Linked DNA regions of Homo sapiens: region 2 is linked to region 1. Evidence: promoter capture Hi-C in 16 types of primary human blood cells and fetal thymus (Javierre and others, 2016). All regions are on one chromosome and are shown on one strand. Each heading gives the region's core, a stretch centred on a gene start or on the middle of the fragment in contact. The rest is flanking DNA. Distances are from core to core; before and after follow the strand shown. Region 1 holds the start of AURKC (aurora kinase C). Region 2 overlaps ZNF420 (zinc finger protein 420).

Region 1 (4,529 bases), core at 1,516-4,015:
TGAAAGAGTTAGACTCTGTCTCAAAAAAAAAAAGAAAAGAAAAGAAAAGAAAAAGGCAGTATTCCAATAGAAACCCCAAGTTCGTATCTAGGTTTTACACATGGACACATGAAATACATTAAACTGGGTCATTCCTAACTGGTACTCAGAACTCACCCTACCACCACCACCTGACCTACCTCAGGGAGGGGGTGTGCACAGACCAGCCAAAATCTGCAATCTTCACCTCACCCCTGAACCCCAGCAGCAGGTTCTCTGGCTTAATATCTCTGTGAATCACTTTCTTGTCATGGCAGTAGGTCAGGGCATCTGCCAACTCCTCTATTATCTGTGGGTGCAAAGAAAAGTCACCCTGGAAGTGAAGCCTGCCACAATTTCCGTCTGAGGTGGAACACTTACCATGAATTGTATGATTACAGTGGAATCTTTTTGGTCCAGTAACTCCATTTCCTCCTTTTAAATTGCACCAGTTACTGGTGTGTGGGGTGTGGTTTTCCTCTCCTTTTTATGTGGTCTTATAGGATGGATGGTAACATGGACACAGATCCTCCCTGTTGTCCTAGCACAGCAAGTAGCCAGACATAGAACCTACATTGAGCCACTCAGATGATCTCTCACAGGACTTGAGGCCCGAGGAAGTGAAACAGAAACAGGAGGAAAGATGGAAGACCACTCATCCTGACACAGCAAGCTGATTGGACCATTGCTCCTGGGAAAATCATTGCCATGGTTCCCTTTCCGGAACCCTCTAGAAATCTCTTTGTACCTATCTCTAAGCCAGTTCTAGCTATTTATTCAGTGAACTCCTTCAGAGCCTTTCAATATGTTTCTTTACATAAGGCAGTGGAGTTAGATTCTGTTGCTTATAACCAAAGAATCCAAACCTATACGCAGTACTTATTAATATTCTGGAGATACAATGAGGTTAATTAGGGTATCCAAGGATAAAGCTGTAGAACATACGTGCCATTATATTAAATTTACACAATAACATTCAGAAGTAAACTTCTCAGAAGGCAATGCGGACCCTCCTGACAGCCACAAACAGAGCTCCCACCAGCCCACAGTAAACTCAGAGACCCCAGAGCCTCCAGACCCGCACCTCACCGTGGCTGTGCGCTGTTCATCTAATTTCTCGCTTTTCTGCAGCTCCTTGTAGAGCTCACCCCTTGGAGCATATTCCAGAATCAGGTACACCCGGCGTGCATCATGGAAATAGTTATACAGGCGCAGGATATTGGGGTGTCTGAAGGATTAATGTTGGAAGAGTCAGATTTCTCCCTGAGGCCTATCATATGATGCCACCGTCACTGCCTGGTCACACAAGTGGCAAATTATGCTGGGACCAGAATAACAACAGCCCTATCTGGGAGCAAGTGAGGGGAGAACGGAGAACAGGAACCAGGATTCGAGTGTCTGACCCAGGGTAGGAGGTAGTGTAAATGGAATGAACTGCAGAGAAGTCTTCAAGGTACAAGTGCAGGGTTTACTTGGGGTTAGTATTTGGGGAAAATGCTGGGCTCAGACGTCAAAGATGAAAGAGGAAGCAGAGACTGTCCTTACTGTAGATGAGCCTGGATCTCAATTTCCCGGCGCAGCTGGTGCTCCAGTCCTTCCTTCTCTATCTGCGACTTGAAGAGAACCTTCAGGGCCACAATGAAATGGCTTTCCTTGAGCCGAGCCAGGTACACATTCCCAAATTTCCCCTTGCCCAGGGGACGCCCGATTTCAAAGTCATCGACTGTGAGGCGCCGCCTGACAGGAGAGGAAGAAAAAAGCCTCAGCTTGGGAGGTAGGGTAGGCGGAGGGAAAGTCAGGGATGCCAATGCTCCCCTTCCTCTTTCATTGTATCCTTCCTCTGCCGCTTTCCCTTCTCACACAGACCCAGCCCTATCAGTAGTTCTCGTTCCCAGGAGCCAGCACCCCACACACCCAGTCTGTTCTTCATCCCCACGTCCCACCTTCCTTCCTTTTCCAGATACCAATCCCAAGGGACTCACATGGCTGGGCTGCTGGGCTGCTGGGCTGTTTGGTTTGCTGTAGCCACTGAAAGAGAGGAGGAGGAGGGAGATAGGAAGGGAGAGGGGAGGGAAGGAGAAGGGGAGAGAAAGAGAGGAGAGGAGAACAGTAGAGAAGGGAATAGGGAGCGAGAGGTGAGGGGAAGAAGGGGAGGAGAGAAAGAGAGGGAAGGGGAAGGCAGGGAGAGGGGGAGGGAGAGGTAAGGGGAAGAAGAAAGAGTAAGGTAAGGTAGGGAGGGGAGGAGGAGGTGAAGAAGAGGCAGAGAGAAAGGAAGGGGAGGAGAGAGTAGGGGAGGGAGAGGTGAAAGAAAGAATTGGAGGGAAGGGAGGGAGTGGGGAGAAAAGAAGAGCGTTGGGGAGGAGGAGAGGGAGGGGAGATGTCAACACATGTGTCTTCTGTGCACCCGACCCCTGGCCCAGTCCCCAGCCTTCCCTGCGTCCTTTCTCTGGCGCTGGCTCTCACACTCTTCGCCTGCAGGTTGAGCTTTGCCCAGCTGCACCACAGCTCTGGGGGAGCTCATGGGGAGAAGAGGTGAGGGCGCGGACGCCTTCCTGAACCCTCTGGATGGCTGTTCCCGTTCACAGGGTCCTGAAAGGGGTGGGGGGTCACTTTCTGGCCGGGGCGCTTCCAATCCTGCTCGTCCTGCAGCCTCACTGATGTCTCACTGCTACACAGGCTTCGGGATCCGCGGCGTCGTGAGCAGCCGTGGCTGCGCGGCCTTCTTTTATACCCGGCACCAACCGCTCAGAGAGGTACTTCCTGGCTGGCTCCTATTGGCTGAAATTCCTGACGCCATCGGAAGTGCGCCCAATAGAAAGGACAGAAACGGGAGCCTCAGTCCAGGGTTCCCGGGTTGGGGCGGAACTGGAGTGCTGCGGTCCGGGCTGGGCACTGAAAGCGAGGGCCAGGGGTGAGGCCCGAGAAGGAAGGAGACAGAGGGTGCGGAGAGGTGGTGATGGCCGTTGTGGGAATGAACAACGCATACACCCACGGGGTGTGCATGCGTCAACTAGGAGAGAGCCGCGATGCACGTGGGAATGAACAGACGCCCACTCCTGACGTGCTGGAGCCTCGTGCAGCCCGTGACCCTAAACCACTTCGCGCCTTGTGCAGCCGGCGACCCCAAAACCACCTTGCTTCAAGGTCACGTCCGATTCAGGCCACTCTCCAGGGTCACCGCGATGGGGCTCCCTGAAGCCTGCGGCTGTGCCTGCTCACAGCCAGGACGCCACCAGTCCAGCTCACTTACCCCTCTCCTCCCACTCGCCAAATATTTGTTGGACCCTGTAATCAGTTTGTGGATTTGGCCTCAGATCGTAAAATCAGCCCCCACGTATTTGTTTAGCAAACACATAAGTTTCAAAAACATTAAAAATTGAATTCTTTTAGACAGGGAACATATCTTGCAGAAATATAATTGAAGGCCTGGCGTGATGGCTCATGCCTGTAATCCCAGCACTTTGGGAGGCCGAGGCGGGCGGATCACCTGAGGTAGGCAGTTCGAGACCAGCCTGGCCAACAGGGCGAAACCCCGTTTCTACTACAAAAATTAGCCGGGTGTGGTGGCGCATGCCTGTAATCCCACCTACTCAAAAGGCTGAGGCAAGAGAATCGCTTGAACCCTGGAGGCGGAGGTTGCAGTGAGCCAAGATCATGCCACTGCACTCCAGCCTGGGCGACAGAAGGAGAACGAGACTCTGTCTCAAAAAAAACAAAAACAAAAACAAAAAAACCCAAAAACAAAAAAGCTCGTCTCAAAATATTTGGGGAGACCTATTTGAGTAATAAAACTCTGGTCTCTCATTTAGCTCGATTGATGTGAATTAAACCCTTTATTGCAATTATCCTGTCTTGATAAGTCGACTCTATCTGGGGAGCAGGGAAAATAATGAACCCATTAGGTGGTTACAATAGGTGGATCAGGGTAATGGCGCTTAGCTCAGGCCAACCATTCCTTTCTCAGAGGCTTTCCCAAACCTGTCTGTTTGTTTGTTTATTGAGACGGAGTCTTGCTCTGTCACCCAGGCTGGAGTGCAGTGGCTCGAACTCAGCTCATGCAACCTCCGCCTCCTAGGTTCAAACATTTCTCCTGCCTCAGCCTCCTGAGTAGCTGGGATTACAGGCACCTGCCACCATGCCCGGCTAATTTTTGTATTTTTAGTAGAGACAGGGTTTCACCATGTTGGCCAGGCTGGTCTCGAACTCCTGACCTCAGGTGATCCACTCGCCTCGGCTTCCCAAAATACTGGGATCACAGGTGTGAGCCACTGCGCCCAGCTCCAAACTGTCAATTTAAAACAGCCCCCACTACAACGTCATCCTGTTCTGTTTTTCCTTAGGTCACTCATAACCATGTGAAAGTGCTGTTTTATATATGTGTATATTGTTAATTTAATGAGTATCGATTGAGTGCCTATCTTGCAACAGGCACTGCTCTAAAAAATCAGATATGTACATAGCAAAATAATTATGCATTCCTGTACTTGAGGAATTTTTTTTTTTTTTTGAGA
Region 2 (4,529 bases), core at 828-3,327, about 20 Mb after region 1:
CTCACCTAATTTTTACTTTTTTTGTTGGGATGAGGTTTTGCTACATTGCCCAGGCTGGTCTTGAACTCCTGGCCTCAAGCAATCCTCCTGCCTCAGCCTCCCAAAGTGATGGGATTATAGGTATAAGCCACCACATGTGGCCCTAAGCTCTTCTTAAGAGCCACATATGGATGCTCCCATCTATGGCAGAGCTTAAACTAAATTGTATTAATAATAGTTCAACCATTCCAATAAAAAAATGGTAACAAGACAAGATAAAAATGCATGTTCCAACTACATGCTCTTTACAAGAAGCACATTTTAAATATAAAGATGGGCTAAAAGTAAAATGGGAAGATACACCATCAAACTCTAATCACAAGAAAGCTTGTATGCCTATATTAGTATAAGACAAAATAGACTTCAAGATAAAGAGAAATACTAGCAATAAGGAGGATCAACTCATCAAGAAGACAGCAATCCAAATGTAGAGATTTAACAACAAAGCTTCAAAATGTGTGAAGCAAAAATTGACAGTACTAAAGGAAGAAAGAGACAAACCCACAGAGTTGGGAATTGTAAAATCTTTTGCTCAGTAACTGACAGAACAAGTAGACAATAAAATCGATAACAATATAGAGGATTTACATACCACTATATCAAGTACCTTGGCCAAGATGATAAATATATATTAATAGAATACCACACCCACTTACCAAAAGCCAAGCTGGGCTGAAGAGAACTGAGCTGCAAGGTGTTGGAATAAGTGATTAACACAACCAGCCTTTAATCACTTAGTAGTCACTTAATTTAAGAGGCTAACCCAGAGAAAGCGCTGAGTACTCCACTGTTTCACTCCCCCAACCCCAACCATGAAATAGCACCTGGAGAGGGTCAGAGAGGGTCAGGCAGATCAGTGCAAATGTGGATCAGTGCAGAAGTGAGTCATCTCACTGCTAAGGGAATGCAGAACAAAAAGCTCCTATCATTCATTTTATGGACTGGGACCAGGGGACAAGAAGACAAGGGAAGGGCTAAGAGTGAAAAAGTAGTGAGGCCTGGCTGGGCACGGTGGCTCATGCCTGTAAGCAACCCCAGCACTTGGGGAGGCCGAGGCAGGAAGATTACTTGAGGCCAGAAGTTTGAGACCAGCCTGGGCAACATAGCAAGAATCTGTCTCTACAAAATAATAATAATAATAATAATAATAATAATAATAATAATAATAAAACATCAGCCAGGCATTGTGATGCAAACCTGTAGTCCTAGCTACTTGGGAGGCTGAGGCAGGAGGATTGCTTGAACTGTCCAGGAGTTCAAGGCTGCAATGAGCTATGATCATGCCACTACACTCCAGTCTGGGCGACAGAGCAATATCCTGTCTCCAAAAATATGTTAAAAAAAAAGAAAAGAGAAGAAAGAAAAAAGAAATAAAGAAAAAAATTAAAACTACCGGATACTAAGAGTGGGGAAAGAAAGTGTCTTCAAAGTTTCCCCTCTCCCCTAGATTAGGATGTCCTCTTGGCAGAGGCACCTGATAAAGAGGCCTCCTAATGGAGGTGCCTGGGTTAGGAATGTAAACACGCATAACAGCATGGCTGGTCTGGGAGGCCTGAGTCCTGCACTGCAACTCCCTTTAGAGACTGTAATGCACTAGAAGTGCACCAAGTCTGCTGCGGGGAGGCCACCTTTCCCCTGTGTGGCCTGCCAGGAATGACCTGGTGGAGCCTGAGAACCCACACATAGGATTTTAGCAAGAGTCAGACTCTTCATTAACAACTGCGTATGGAAAGGTCATCAAAATAAACCAGATGCTGGGTCATAAAACAAGTAACAGTAAATATTTTAAAAACTGAATTATACAGAGAATATACTGTGGTCAGTGTCCACATATTATTAAATTACAAACTAGTAACAAGAATCTCCAAATATTTGGAAATTAAACATACTTCTAAATAACCCATGCAAAAAGACATTGAAAAATATGCCGAACTGAGTGACAATGGAAACACACTTATCAGATTCTGTGAGCTGCAACAAAAGCAGTATTTAGAGGAAAATTAATAGTGTTAAATGCTTATGTTAGAAAAATGATTTAGGCTCCCACCTTAGGAAGCTGGAAAAAGAAGAGCAAGTGAAGCTGAAAGTAAGAAGAAAAGAAAGAATAAAAATAAGCACAAAATCCACAATATAAAGTAGATTACAATAGAGAATATCAACAAACTCAAAAATCAATTCTTTCAAAAGATTAATACAGTTTACAAACCCCTATCAAGTTTTCAAAAAAAAATATTACCAAAGTGGAGACTGGACCACAGATTTTTTAAGGCTTTAATTAAAAAGATAATACAATTCTATGCCAATAATTTTGGCAATTTCAACAATATAGACAAATTCCTTAAAACAAAAATTGCCAAAATTCACACAAGAAAAAACAGAAATACAAATCATCCCATGGATATTAAAGAAATTGAATGTGAGAAACAAACAAATAAACTGTCCACAGAGAAGGCCCAGATGGCTTTACTGGTAAATTCTACCAATATTTAAGGCAGATATAATACTGTTCTTTCACAAACGTTTTCAGAAAACAGAAAAAGGAGACAGCAGTCTGTTCTACATTTTGAGGCCAAATAACCATAATACTAAAACCTCACAAAGATATTACATGAAAAAAGTTACAGCTCAATAGCTTCTAGGAAGACAGACATACAACAAAGTTATAAAGTATTACCAATCAAATCTATTTGACTTTGGAACCACAAGTATGTTTTCTATAACTATAATCACAAAATTAAATCAAAATGAAAAAAAATCTCTAAGAAATAAAAGCAAAATGAAACAAACTTATCTGTGCATAAAGCTGGAAGGTTAAACATATAAAGGAAGTGATTATTTTCGGGAACTTTAAAATACAGTCATTTGACATTAGACCCAATATAACCTACAAACAAAATAACTATAAACTGTTTTTCAAAGTTGTCTTAAGAGTTTATAACTTTATGAAGTTATGTCTTAGAGTTTTTCAGTAGTTATACTGTTATTAATAATATTGGCATTGTTAGTCTAAAAGTAATATATGTATATAACCTGAAATGATTATACACACACATATATCAGTGAGAATCTTAATATCATTAATCATTACGAATTAAGATTTTTTCAGATTATAAAACACAAATATAAAATCAAAGATAGTAAGAAAAACTCTATAATCTTTTATTTCAATTGGAAATATCAGTATACACTCAGGATTTTTTTTCTCCTTCTAAAAAATTTGTATTTCACCAGCTCTGTTAAGGCTATAAGCAATGACAACTAGGAGCAATGAGAGTTCCTACTATCCTTGTTGTGACTTCTTAAAAGCACTTCTTATAAAAGGAACCAGGGCTCCATAAAGAAGTGGCTGATTTTATGTTTGGGACAGGAAATTGTACAAAATGAGCCTGGAATACTCTGTCAGCACGGAAAGTCTGGAATCTGCCAAAGACTACTGGGGTCATGTCAAAAAGAATAAAAAGGAATCCAAAAGCAGACAAATCAGAGAGGGTAAACCTTCCACTTGCCATACATGGAACAATGTGAGCATTAATAAGAACAGTTATTGTCACAGATCGAAACATAACAGATATGTTTTAATACACAAGTTAATAATAATAGTTTAAAAGAAAAACACAGAATAAGCTTTGAAAGATGCTGAAAAATAATAAGAGAAAAACCAATCTTTCATTCCAGTTTTTCTTTTTGCATAAACTATTCTTCAGGTAACCAAGACATTGAGAAAGGATGGCTCCCTTTATAGATATAGTCCAGCTAATAAATGCAGAAGAATTAGAATATAATTCTGTAACCACTGATAAAATAACATATTCACATAAAGATGTCAGTAGCTGGCTGTTAACATCACATAAAGGAAAACAACCAGATACTATGCCCTACTTCAGAGAAGTGCACATCACTATGTATGATGGATTACTAAAATAAAAAAAAAAAAAAAGCAAAAACGGGGCCAGGCATGGTGGCTCACGCCTGTAATCCCAGCACTTTGGGAGGCAGAGGTGGGCGGATCACAAGGTCAGGAGATCGAGACCATCCTGGCCAACATGGTGAAACCCTGTCTCTACTAAAATACAAAAAATTAGCTGGGCATGGTGGCGCGTGCCTGTAGCCCCAGCTACTATAGAGGGAAGAAAGGAGCAGGTAGAGGGGACAGAAATGGACACTAGACTTCTTCAAATTCATCTTATTCTGTACTTTTGATTTTAGATATATGTTATGTAATTTTAAAACAAAATTAAATCATAGTGGGAGAAAAGCAATCCCTAAACATGAAAAGCAATATAAAACAAATGAGCATAACTGCATTTCCAGCTGGCAGCTTAACCATACGAGAAGTGTTATTGTAGACGACTTTTAAACACAGTAATTTGATTATAGATCCCTAGTGGGCTATATCCTGTCAAACTCCAACAGGACTTTATGTTGTTTTTCTATATTCATATGGTTGGTTAAAATATTGGTATTGTTATTTTGAAACTCTGTCTCAATCC

What was found. The method cuts DNA at HindIII sites, captures the fragments that hold promoters and counts their contacts. A CHiCAGO score of 5 or more calls a contact.
Region 2: a contact is called between a fragment that was not itself captured here and the fragment with the promoter of AURKC in region 1, in 1 of 17 cell types (total CD4 T cells). The highest score is 14.1, in total CD4 T cells.

What each region holds. Positions count from the first base shown.
Region 1 is chr19:57,229,259-57,233,787 of GRCh38, reverse strand. AURKC (aurora kinase C) reads right to left here and starts at 2,765. Exons shown (of 7, transcript NM_001015878.2): 1 at 2,482-2,765; 2 at 2,001-2,046; 3 at 1,564-1,755; 4 at 1,108-1,246; 5 at 180-328. The coding sequence starts at 2,539. The HindIII fragment of the contact is 17,293 bases long and covers 1-4,529 here.
Region 2 is chr19:37,082,616-37,087,144 of GRCh38, reverse strand. The region is part of intron 2 of ZNF420 (zinc finger protein 420); the gene reads right to left. Among named protein-coding and RNA genes, the nearest start is that of ZNF420, 6.4 kb to the right of the region's middle. The HindIII fragment of the contact is 3,177 bases long and covers 489-3,665 here.